3 separate regions of the Homo sapiens genome follow, and regions 1 and 3 are each linked to region 2. The links are contacts of gene promoters, found by promoter capture Hi-C in blood cells and fetal thymus (Javierre and others, 2016). All regions are on one chromosome and are shown on one strand. The core of a region is centred on a gene start or on the middle of the fragment in contact, and the rest is flanking DNA. Distances in the headings are between cores, read along the strand shown.

Region 1 (3,481 bases), core at 829-3,328, 1.1 Mb after region 2:
AGGAGAGAGGCAAGTTATGAACAAGGAGAACAGGGGATGAGCATGTGGTAGGCACTGATCCAGGCCCTTTGAGAGCTAGGCGGGAGAGAACACTTAACCCCCCCAATTAAGGGGGCATGATGTGGTTAATTCTTTCCTCAAATCTACTTACTCATATCCCAGCAGTTTTATAGGGCTGTGTACTTCCGAAAATTCCCAATATAGATGCTCCCAGCTTACAATGGGGTTACACTGCCTGCTAACCCATCGTAAAGTCAAAAAATTGTTAAGTGGGCCAGGCATAGTGGCTTATGCCTGCTGTCCCAGCACTTTGGGAGGCTGAGGCAGGCAGATCACTTGAGGCCAGGAGTTCAAGACCAGCCTGGCCAACATGGTGAAACCCCTTCTTTATTGAAAATACAATAATTAGCTGGGTGTGGTGGCGGGCGCCTGAAATCCTAGCTACTCCCGAGACGGAGGCAGGAGAATCACTTGAACCCGGGAAACGGAGGTTGCAGTGAGACAAGATTGTGCCACTGCACTCCAGCTCAGGTGACACAATAAGACCCTGTCTCAAAATAATAACAATAATAATAATAAATTGTTAAGCGGCGCCATCACAAGTATGGTACTGTCTAAATTTGTTTCCCTCCCACATTCCTGCCTGTACTTCCTTAGACTTTGCCAGTGGTTCTCAGTGTGGGCTGAAATTGGAAACCCCTGGGGTACTGTAAAAAGCACCAATGCCAGAGTCCCATGTCCAGAAATTCACATGTAATTGGATGGGGTGGCCGGGGTATGAGGCAGTTTCAGATCCCTCTGGGTGACTGTCAGGTACAGCCTGAGCGGAGAACCACTGGTTCAGGCCACGGTTCCTTCACTGGGTGATGAGCGAGGCCTCCTGCCTCCAGGCGTCACGGCCTTCCTGCCGTCCCCAGGACTGGATGCCACTGATCTGTGGAGGGGTCGGCCAACCCTGCAATAGGGATCAGCTCCGACCCACGGACGGAGTTCCGCCCTCCGCATGCTTTTGTAAATAAAGTGTCATTCGCCCCTAGCCGACGCTGATTCATTTGGGACTGCGGGGTCTGCAAAGCCTAAAATACTGATGAGCTCGTCCTTTTCAGAACATGTTTGCCAGCCCCTGCATGCTGCAGCCCAAGACCAAAAGTCCTGCAAGTCTCTGGAGTTCGCTTCCTGCTGCAGGTCCTGCCTCACGGGTATTGGATCAGTTACCTGCTCTAGGGACACTCCCTGTTGTTTGGGGCAGAATGGGGTGCACCTCCTCTTGCCCTCACAGTGCCTGGGTCCCCTTAACTCACTGTTCTCCTTGTTTGTGACTGGCCTGCCTCTCTTGCAGAATGGGGAGAGCCCGCAGGGTGGAGGGAGCAGGGCTTCATCTATGAATCTCATAGCTAGCCAGGGTCTGGCATACAGTAGGCGCTCAAGGTATGTGCTGTCTCAGTGGTTTAGTTGAATGATCTTCACTAAAGCCTTATCAAAGCATATGCTGGCCCGGGAGCTGTGGCTCACGCCTGTAATCCCAGCACTTGGGGAGGCTGAGGCAGGTAGATCACCTGAGCCCAGGAGTTCAAGACCAGCCTGGGCAACCTAGTGAGAACCCATCTCTACAAAAAAGAAAAAGAAAAAGAAAAAAAAAAAGCACTACATGCGGTGGTGCTTGCCTATAGTCCCAGCTACTGGGGTGGCTGAGGTAGGAGGACAGCTTGAGACCTGGGGTTGAGGTGGTGGGTTGAGGCTGCAGTGACCCGTGATTGTTCCACTCTACTCTATCCTGGGCAACAGAGCAAGACCTTGTCTCAACAAAAGAAAGAAAGAAAAAAAAAAAAGCCTAGGCTGACTGTTCATAGGATGAGTAGAGGAGTCTTGGTTTGTGCAGAGAAAACTAGAGAGATTAAAAAAATATTTGGCTGATTTAAAGCTTTCTCTGACTTCACTTTTGCTAAGAATTTGATGACTGTCATTCATCGAATCGCAATAACAGCAAACAATACAGGTTTTTTTTTTTGCAAACAATAACAAAAATAGTTTTCATAATGTGCCAAGTATGATATAAAGTGCTTTACATGTATATCATTCACATAATTCTCACAACAACCCTATGATGGGAGCTATTATTCCTGATGTACAGATGAGGAAACTGAGGCACAGAGTGGGTAAGCGAGTTGCCCAGGTTATATACAGCTAGTAAGTGACAGAGCTGAGACTCAAATCAGGCAGCCTGGGGCCAGAGTCCAAGCTTTTTTTTTTTTTTTCTCTCTTTTTGTGGCAGGATCTCGCTGTCTTGCCCAGGCTGGACGGCAGTGGTGCAATCACAGCTCACTGTAGCCTCCACCTCCCAGGCTCAACTGGCCCTCCTGCTTTAGCCTCCTGAATGGCTGGGACTACAGGCATGCAGCACCATGGCCCGGCTACGTTTTTTTTGTTTTTTTTTTTTTTGAGACTGTCTTGCTCTGTCATCCCGGCTAGAGTGCAGTGGCACCATCTCGGCTCACTGCAACCTCCACCTCCCAGGTTCAAGCAATTTTCCCTGCCTCAGCCTCCTGAGTAGCTGGGATTACAGGCACCCGCCACCATGCCTGGCTAATTTTTGTTTTGTTTTTTTTTTAATAGAGATGGGGTTTTGCCATATTGGCCAGGTTGGCCTTGAAGTCATGACCTCAGGTGATCCACCCACCTGGGCCTCCCAAAGCGCAGGGATTACAGGCGTGAGCCACCGTGCCTGGCCAGGTTTTCTAGTTTTCGTACAGATGAGGTCTCACTACCTTGTCCTGGTGGATTTTTACCTCCTAGCCTCAAGTGATCCTCCTGCCTCCGCCTCCCAAAGTGTTGTGATTACAGAAGTGAGTCACCACACCTGGCCCAGAGTCAGAGCTTTTAACCACTATGTTACACTGCTTGAGAGTCACAGTAAGTAATAATAACCCCACCCACAACCATGCAATTGTGAAGCCACCTCACAGGGTCTCAGCAAGAGCCACCCTTCCAGTACAGCAGTCATCGGCCCCACCCGCTCTGCTGAAGCCTGCAGGGGAGGCTGCACGGGCAAGGCAGATGACGCATCCTCTCAGAGAAGAGGAGTTCAAATCCCAGAGCCGCCTCTTCCTAGCTATGTACCCTCAGACAAGATCATTAATTTGTTTTCCTCATCCTTAACAATGGGGCTCACAGCCTCTTCCCTGGGCTGTTGTGAGGGTGACATAAAGCATGTCCCAGAGCAGATACAAAAGAGGCCAGGTGTGCACAGGGTGGTGGGTCGGGCCATTCAGCCCAATTGGGGCCATTCATTTAATGGGATCCGGATACACCTTCGTCTACGGATCTAGCCAATTGCTGCTGCCTATTTAGGTTTTGCCTGAATCTTGATCAAGAATATCTGATAACCTTTCCTGCTTTGTTTTATTTGAAAACATTGTAAACTCAAAAGGGCTTTTTAAGTCACCTCTGGCCTCCGCCCTCCGAGCGGCACTCTCTCCAAGCC
Region 2 (3,565 bases), core at 104-2,603:
GCTGTACACTTAAAGATGGTTACAACGGTCAACTGTATGTTACATATATGTTACCACAGGTTTTTTTTTTAATTTAAAAATATTCTTTTAAAAAAAGCAGTCACTGTCATTCCTAGTGTTGTCCACTCTGGAATATTCAAAATTATTTCAAACCAATGCTAAATTAACTTGAATTTTAAAAATAGTTTTAATTTTAAACAATTATAAAGGCAATACGTTTTCATTGTAAAAATCTAGAAAATACAAAAAAGTGTTATTAAAGGATAATTTTTAGAAAAAATGTAAACATCGTGACTTTCACACAAATATAAAATGAATATGTGTGAAAGAGGTTATTTAACTCATTATTGAATAAGGAAACCAGTATGATGTTAAAACCAAAGAAGCTGGCCACTTGCCTGCAGTCCTAGCTACTCCAGAGGCTGAGGCGGGAGACTCACCTGAGCCCAGGAGTTTGCAACCAGCCTGGGCAACACAGCGAAACTCCCCAACCCTGTTTAAAATAAATAAATAAATAAATAAATAAATAAATAAATAAAAGAAAAAGGAAAAAAAAAAAGCAAAGAACAAAAGGACACACATATACAGACAAACAGGAATGCTAAAATGAATTTACAAATCAATGCCATACTGGTCAGTATCCATTGGACAATAATCATTCCACTGGGACGAACTCATTAGCCTTGATGTTGGCAAAAGTCATTTGCAATACTACAGGCTTTCTATAATTTATAGAGTTGTAAAATAACCTACAGACGAGAAAGGCCACAGTACACTGTAAAATTAAATAAACCTGCAAAAAACGCTAAGCAGGACATCCGGGAACACTGGTCCCTCTTTCTAGTCCCCTTGAAAGTCTCACAAGGCTGAAAAAGGAAAGTAAAATCCTTGTGTAACCCTTCTGCCCAGAAGTACACTGGCACAGATTCTTTAGAGACGAATTTAATCCAGAGTGTGGAGCCTTTATTAAGGAAATAATCCGGTGCAACGTTCTGGGACACGCTCCTGGACTGGGTGGGCTTCTGCACACTCACCCAGCGCACCTCCAATCCCCGGGAGCGCTCGGCACCGCCCACTTCTCTGCGAGTGGCTGCAAGTTGCAGAGCAAACCAGGGGGCGATCTGGAACCCTCTGGGAGTAAAGGGCTAAGCTATAAGCGCAGGGTCGACGGGCAGGGACCGGAAACAAATTCTAGGAACCGAGATCCGCTGAGCAGCAGGGAAGCTGCGCAGCCACCGCGTCCCGCCAGCGCCGCCTCTTTCCCTCCCCGCCCACCGCCCGCCTGGCCCGGCGGGGCGGCGCGAGGACCCAGGGGCGGGGCGACCTTTGCTCCGGCCGTGAGCAGTCCAGGCCAGGCGTGGCCCAGCCGCCCGGCTGCAAGGTGGGGTGTCCCCGCCGCTCGGATCCCCATCTCACCTGCCGCGGGCGAGGTGGCCCCGCCGCTTCCTGCGCTCACCTCGGGTCCCTCCCTCCCGGGCCAGGTTTGGCCGCGGCAGCCGCCCCTGGGCGCCCGCGCCCGGACCCGCGGTTTCGGTCAGACCCGCCCGCGGGCTGGTTTCGATTAGGGCCAGTAGGAGGGCGGAGCGGCCGGGACGCCAGGAGGGAACTAGCCTAAGTGGGGACGGTCCCCGTGCAGGAGACAAAGAGCGTCCCTGGAGCGATCAGGGCTCAGGAGCCCGACCCGGAGCCCGGGGCGTCCGCGCTGACTTCGGGTCCCCGGAGCCTGGGGCACGGCAGGGAGAAGACGACGGCGGAGAAGGCGACAGCGGAGAAGGAAGGCAGGCTGCAGGGGCGCCGTCGGCGCGGCGGGCCGGGATGCGGACGCCGGTGGTGATGACGCTGGGCATGGTGTTGGCGCCCTGCGGGCTCCTGCTCAACCTGACCGGCACCCTGGCGCCCGGCTGGCGGCTGGTGAAGGGCTTCCTGAACCAGCCAGTGGACGTGGAGTTGTACCAGGGCCTGTGGGACATGTGTCGCGAGCAGAGCAGCCGCGAGCGCGAGTGCGGCCAGACGGACCAGTGGGGCTACTTCGAGGCCCAGCCCGTGCTGGTGGCGCGGGCACTCATGGTCACCTCGCTGGCCGCCACGGTCCTGGGGCTTCTGCTGGCGTCGCTGGGCGTGCGCTGCTGGCAGGACGAGCCCAACTTCGTGCTGGCAGGGCTCTCGGGCGTCGTGCTCTTCGTCGCTGGCCTCCTCGGCCTCATCCCGGTGTCCTGGTACAACCACTTCTTGGGGGACCGCGACGTGCTGCCCGCCCCGGCCAGCCCGGTCACGGTGCAGGTCAGCTACAGCCTGGTCCTGGGCTACCTGGGCAGCTGCCTCCTGCTGCTGGGCGGCTTCTCGCTGGCGCTCAGCTTCGCGCCCTGGTGCGACGAGCGTTGTCGCCGCCGCCGCAAGGGACCCTCCGCCGGGCCTCGCCGCAGCAGCGTCAGCACCATCCAAGTGGAGTGGCCCGAGCCCGACCTGGCGCCCGCCATCAAGTACTACAGCGACGGCCAGCACCGACCGCCGCCTGCCCAGCACCGCAAGCCCAAGCCCAAGCCCAAGGTCGGCTTCCCCATGCCGCGGCCGCGGCCCAAGGCCTACACCAACTCGGTGGACGTCCTCGACGGGGAGGGGTGGGAGTCCCAGGACGCTCCCTCGTGCAGCACCCACCCCTGCGACAGCTCGCTGCCCTGCGACTCCGACCTCTAGACGCTTGTAGAGCCTGGGGGGCGCCGGGTGGCAAAGGACTCACCCCCGCACAGGCCCGCCTGGCTTCGAGTTGGAACCCGGACACTTGCCCCTCACTGGTGTGGATGGAAATCTGCCTTTCGTGGGACCAAACAGGACTCCTTGGACGATTAGTTCAGGTTGGGTTTGGTTTTCTTCTTAAAGAGTTTAGTTTTCCTCTCCAGAGGGATCAGGGTCCTCTTAGGGAGTGACGGGCTTTTCATATATTTTTGCTGAAGAATATATGGAAAGGGTGGCATTTGCGTCACGTGGACCAGGGACAGTGCTGAAATCAGCAGTGCTCAGAAACAATTTAACATGTTGAAACGACAATATTCTAAAATACTGATGAATCTTGCATCAATATAATTATTGGGTTTTTTTTCTTTTTCCTGCTGTATAACTCCTTGCCATGCAAACTCTCAAGAGGCCAATATATTCCTGGCCATGTTTGAATGAGCCTCTTAAAATAAACTTAGAGCCATGCAAATGCCAGCAGCTTAATGGATTTCATGGAATGAAATACCGTGATTAACTCATAGCTACATATCATTGCATAAATGGGATTTATCTTTTTTCTCACTTATTTTTGCGGTGAAAGTCGAGGGCATGCAAGAGTTTCTCTTCCAGAAGCCAAGAGGAGAACAAAGGTCCTAATGCTGTACTATTCCACCCTTTGGACGCCTCATCCAGGACGCAGAGGACTCTAGGTTTAACATTTTGTACAAAATGGAACCTGTTAATCATATTAAAGCACATATGTATATATCTTTTATTTATAAATAAAATTTTAAAACAATAGTTTCAGTATAGCCACAAAAGCTCTTTTGTCTTCAGTACAACGTTTGGGAGT
Region 3 (3,199 bases), core at 217-2,716, 1.1 Mb after region 2:
TGACCCTTGGGAAATCCTTTCTGCAGTTTAGCACCATGAAAATGGCCCACGCGCCTCCAGGGCACCACTCAGTCATTGGTAGACCGAGCGTCAATGGGCTGGCATATGCTGAATATGTCATCTACAGAGGAGAACAGGTATGTTACTCATCAAACAAGCATAACCAAGTTCACAAACATGTCAATAGAGCACAGAGACCGTGTAAGACTTGAGACACTTTTCAGTGAAATATCCACCACACAGTGTGCTAGTATTAATTACTTCAGATACAAAATAAAGGTATCAAAATAATTCTTTGACATCAACTTTTTACCTAAAACCCATTAGTAGCTGTCAGCCACATAACACAGTGTGAACAAGAGGGCAGCTGAGAAACAAAGGCTTGGGCCCTCATGCCGTTTTGAGGCCTGCAGCTCTGAACTAATGCCTTGTGCCACTTCGTGGGCAGCATGCCAGGGCAGCTGCTGTTAGTGGGTCTTCATGGATGTACATGCCACAGGATTTGTCCAAAAACAAAAACAATTTGTCTGAATGTAAGTGAACTTCAAATGAATACCATAACTACAATAAAAGAGAAAAATAAAGAAGGAAATAACTAAATATATATAACCTATGAAAACAGTATTTTATACTGTGCCTTCAGTCATGGGCAGGGTAGGGAATGCTGTTGGGGGAAGACTGACAAAGGAATCCTGAACTCCTTTTAGTAAATGTGTTGATGGAGATACCGTGGGCAAAACAGTGAAACTCTTAAGCATATTATAGGATTGAGCACATGAGCGGATGTGTTGATGTATTGATTTGAGGAGCCAAAATTCTCATGGTAGAAGAAGGGACATACAAATATGGAATGGAGAAGGTAAGAAAGACTCTAAGGGTGGACTGAAATTGGAAGTATTACTATGATCTCATGGTTTCTAACGTGTGTGTACACCCATGTAAATTTATGGGTAAGTAGTAATATAAGCATGTGTGTGTATATGAGAGAAAGAGAAACCAAGGAAGGGAGGGAAGGAGAGAGAGAGAGACAGACAGGAAGGAAAGGAGGGAGAGAAGAGAGGAAGGAAGGAAGTGAGGGAGGAAGAGAGAGAGGAAGGGAGGGAGAGAGCGAGGAAAGGAGGGAGGGAGGAAGGAAGTGAGGGAGGAAGAGAGAGCGAGGAAGGGAGGGAGGAGAGAGGAAGGAAGGAAGAGAGAAGAAAGGAGGGAGAGAGAGGAAGGGAAGCAGGGAGGGAGAGAGAGAGGAAGGGAGGGAGGGAAAGAGAGAAAGGGAGGGAAAGAAAGGGAGACAGATACTAAGGAAGGGAGGGACAGAGGAAAGGAAAAGAGAGAGAAGAAGGGAGGGAGAGAAGAAGGAAGGGGGAAAGAGATAAAGGGAAGGAAAGAACGGGAGAGAGAGGAAGGGAGGGAGAAAGACTGAGAGAGGAAGCAAGGGAGAAAGCGAGAGAGGAAGGAAGAGAGAAAGGGAGAGGAAAGAAAGAAGGGAGGAAGAGAGGAAGGAAAGAGGGAGGGAAAGAGAGAGAGGGATGAATGGAGGGGAGAGGCAGGAAGGGAGGGAGAGAGAGAGAGAGAGAGAGGAAGGGAGAAAGCGAGAGAGGAAGGAACAGGGAGTGAGAAAGGAAGGATTGGAGGAAGGAGAGAGAAAAAAAGGAAGGCAGGAGAGAGAGGAGAAGGGAAGTGGGGGAGGAAGGGAGAAGGGGGAATGAAGCGGGGAGAGAGGGGAGGGAGGGAGAGAGAGCTAGAGAGCGGAACGGAGGGAGAAAGTGAGGGAGAGCAGAAGGAAGGGATGGGGAGAGAGGGAGGAAGAGGGAGGGAGGGGGAGAGGGAGGGAGTGGGAGGGAGTGAGAGGGAGAAAGAGGTGGGAGGGAAGAAGGGATAGGCAGAGGGATGGGGGAGGGAGAAAGGGAGGGAGTGAGAGGAGACAGAGGTAGGGAGGGATGGAGGGGGAGAGAGGGAGAGAGAAGGAGGGAGGGAGAAACAGGGAAGGACGGGTGGAGGGAGGGATGACATGGGACTCATCATGTACCCATTATTAGACCAGGCAAGAATTATTAATGGATGCTAAATATGGGGATTGTTTCACTAAGGAGAAGAATATTTGCGTGGTTTTCTTATTACAGACTTACTTTCAAAGGGGGCTGGGGGGAGGAGTAATTATATATTGGAGAAAGGGGACAATGCCTTGACCAGATAATCAAAATCAACATCACCAATGAGGGACAGATAGGCTTATATTATCTCTCTAGGTGGATACTCTAAAGGCACGACATCTCTGCAGCATTCCAGCCAAAAATACATGATGTAAGTCTAATCAAAATGAGGAATGTTTTACTTTTTTTAATGTTGAAAGATTGTATTCTTCAAAAATGTTAATATTATAAAAGAAAGGCTGTGCTAACTTTCCAGATTACATGAGGCCCAAGAGACATGAAAACGAAGTTAACCTTCTGCCCCCAACTGCATCCAGTATTGGAAGAGAAAGTACATTATTAGATCAACTGACAGAATTGGAATATGGACATTAAATAAAAGGATTGTATCAATGTAAAATTATAAGGTTGATTCTGTACTTACGTAAGGCAATATGTCTATGCTTAGAAAATATATACTGGCATATTTAGGGATAAAGGACCATGATGATGTATATAACTTGTAAACGTTTTGGGGAGAATGTGTGTGTGTGTGTTTGTGTGTGTGTGTGTGTGTGTCTGTGTGTGTGTGTGTGTGTGTGTGTGTGTAGTGCGTATGTGTGGGTGTGGGTGTATCTAGTATACAGGGATAGGGAAGGGGCAAATGATAAAGCAAATGAGATAAATAAAACCTTCCCAAACGTAGATCTGGGTGAGGTTATGTAGCTGTTTTTGGTACCATTTTAATTTTTGCAACTTACTTGTAAGTTGGTAGCTGTTTCCAAATAAAAAGTTTACAAAAAGGAAGGAATAAATTTGTCATATTTTTCTGTTTAAATCATAAACCTTTAACTTCTAGAAAAGAAGCTTTTTTTTAACTTTTATTCAGTAATTATACTTCTTCTAGAAATTTGTATTGGAATAATCAGTGATAGTCACAAACACACACTATATACATGAATATATGAATAGTCATCACTGTCTTATCACAATAAAAAATTTAAACAACCTAAATATTAAGCAAAAGCAGAATTGTTAAATAAACATATTCATATGTCTGATATTTTTTAACA

Evidence for each region. The method cuts DNA at HindIII sites, captures the fragments that hold promoters and counts their contacts. A CHiCAGO score of 5 or more calls a contact.
Region 1: a contact is called between a fragment that was not itself captured here and the fragment with the promoter of CLDN23 in region 2, in 3 of 17 cell types (neutrophils, total CD8 T cells and fetal thymus). The highest score is 6.7, in neutrophils.
Region 3: a fragment that was not itself captured here is called in contact with the fragment with the promoter of CLDN23 in region 2 in 1 of 17 cell types (total B cells); the score reaches 6.2 in total B cells.

Annotation. Positions count from the first base shown.
Region 1 is chr8:9,825,743-9,829,223 of GRCh38, forward strand. No RefSeq gene overlaps it. Among named protein-coding and RNA genes, the nearest start is that of MIR124-1HG, 76 kb to the right of the region's middle. The HindIII fragment of the contact is 318 bases long and covers 1,920-2,237 here.
Region 2 is chr8:8,700,584-8,704,148 of GRCh38, forward strand. It overlaps CLDN23 (claudin 23), which reads left to right and starts at 1,354. Exons shown (of 1, transcript NM_194284.3): 1 at 1,354-3,513. The coding sequence starts at 1,816. The coding sequence ends at 2,694. RefSeq lists a silencer at 1,087-1,706 and an enhancer at 1,180-2,147. The HindIII fragment of the contact is 12,864 bases long and covers 1-3,565 here.
Region 3 is chr8:9,770,126-9,773,324 of GRCh38, forward strand. It overlaps TNKS (tankyrase), which reads left to right. Exons shown (of 27, transcript NM_003747.3): 26 at 1-137. Among named protein-coding and RNA genes, the nearest start is that of MIR597, 30 kb to the left of the region's middle. The HindIII fragment of the contact is 3,049 bases long and covers 1-2,991 here.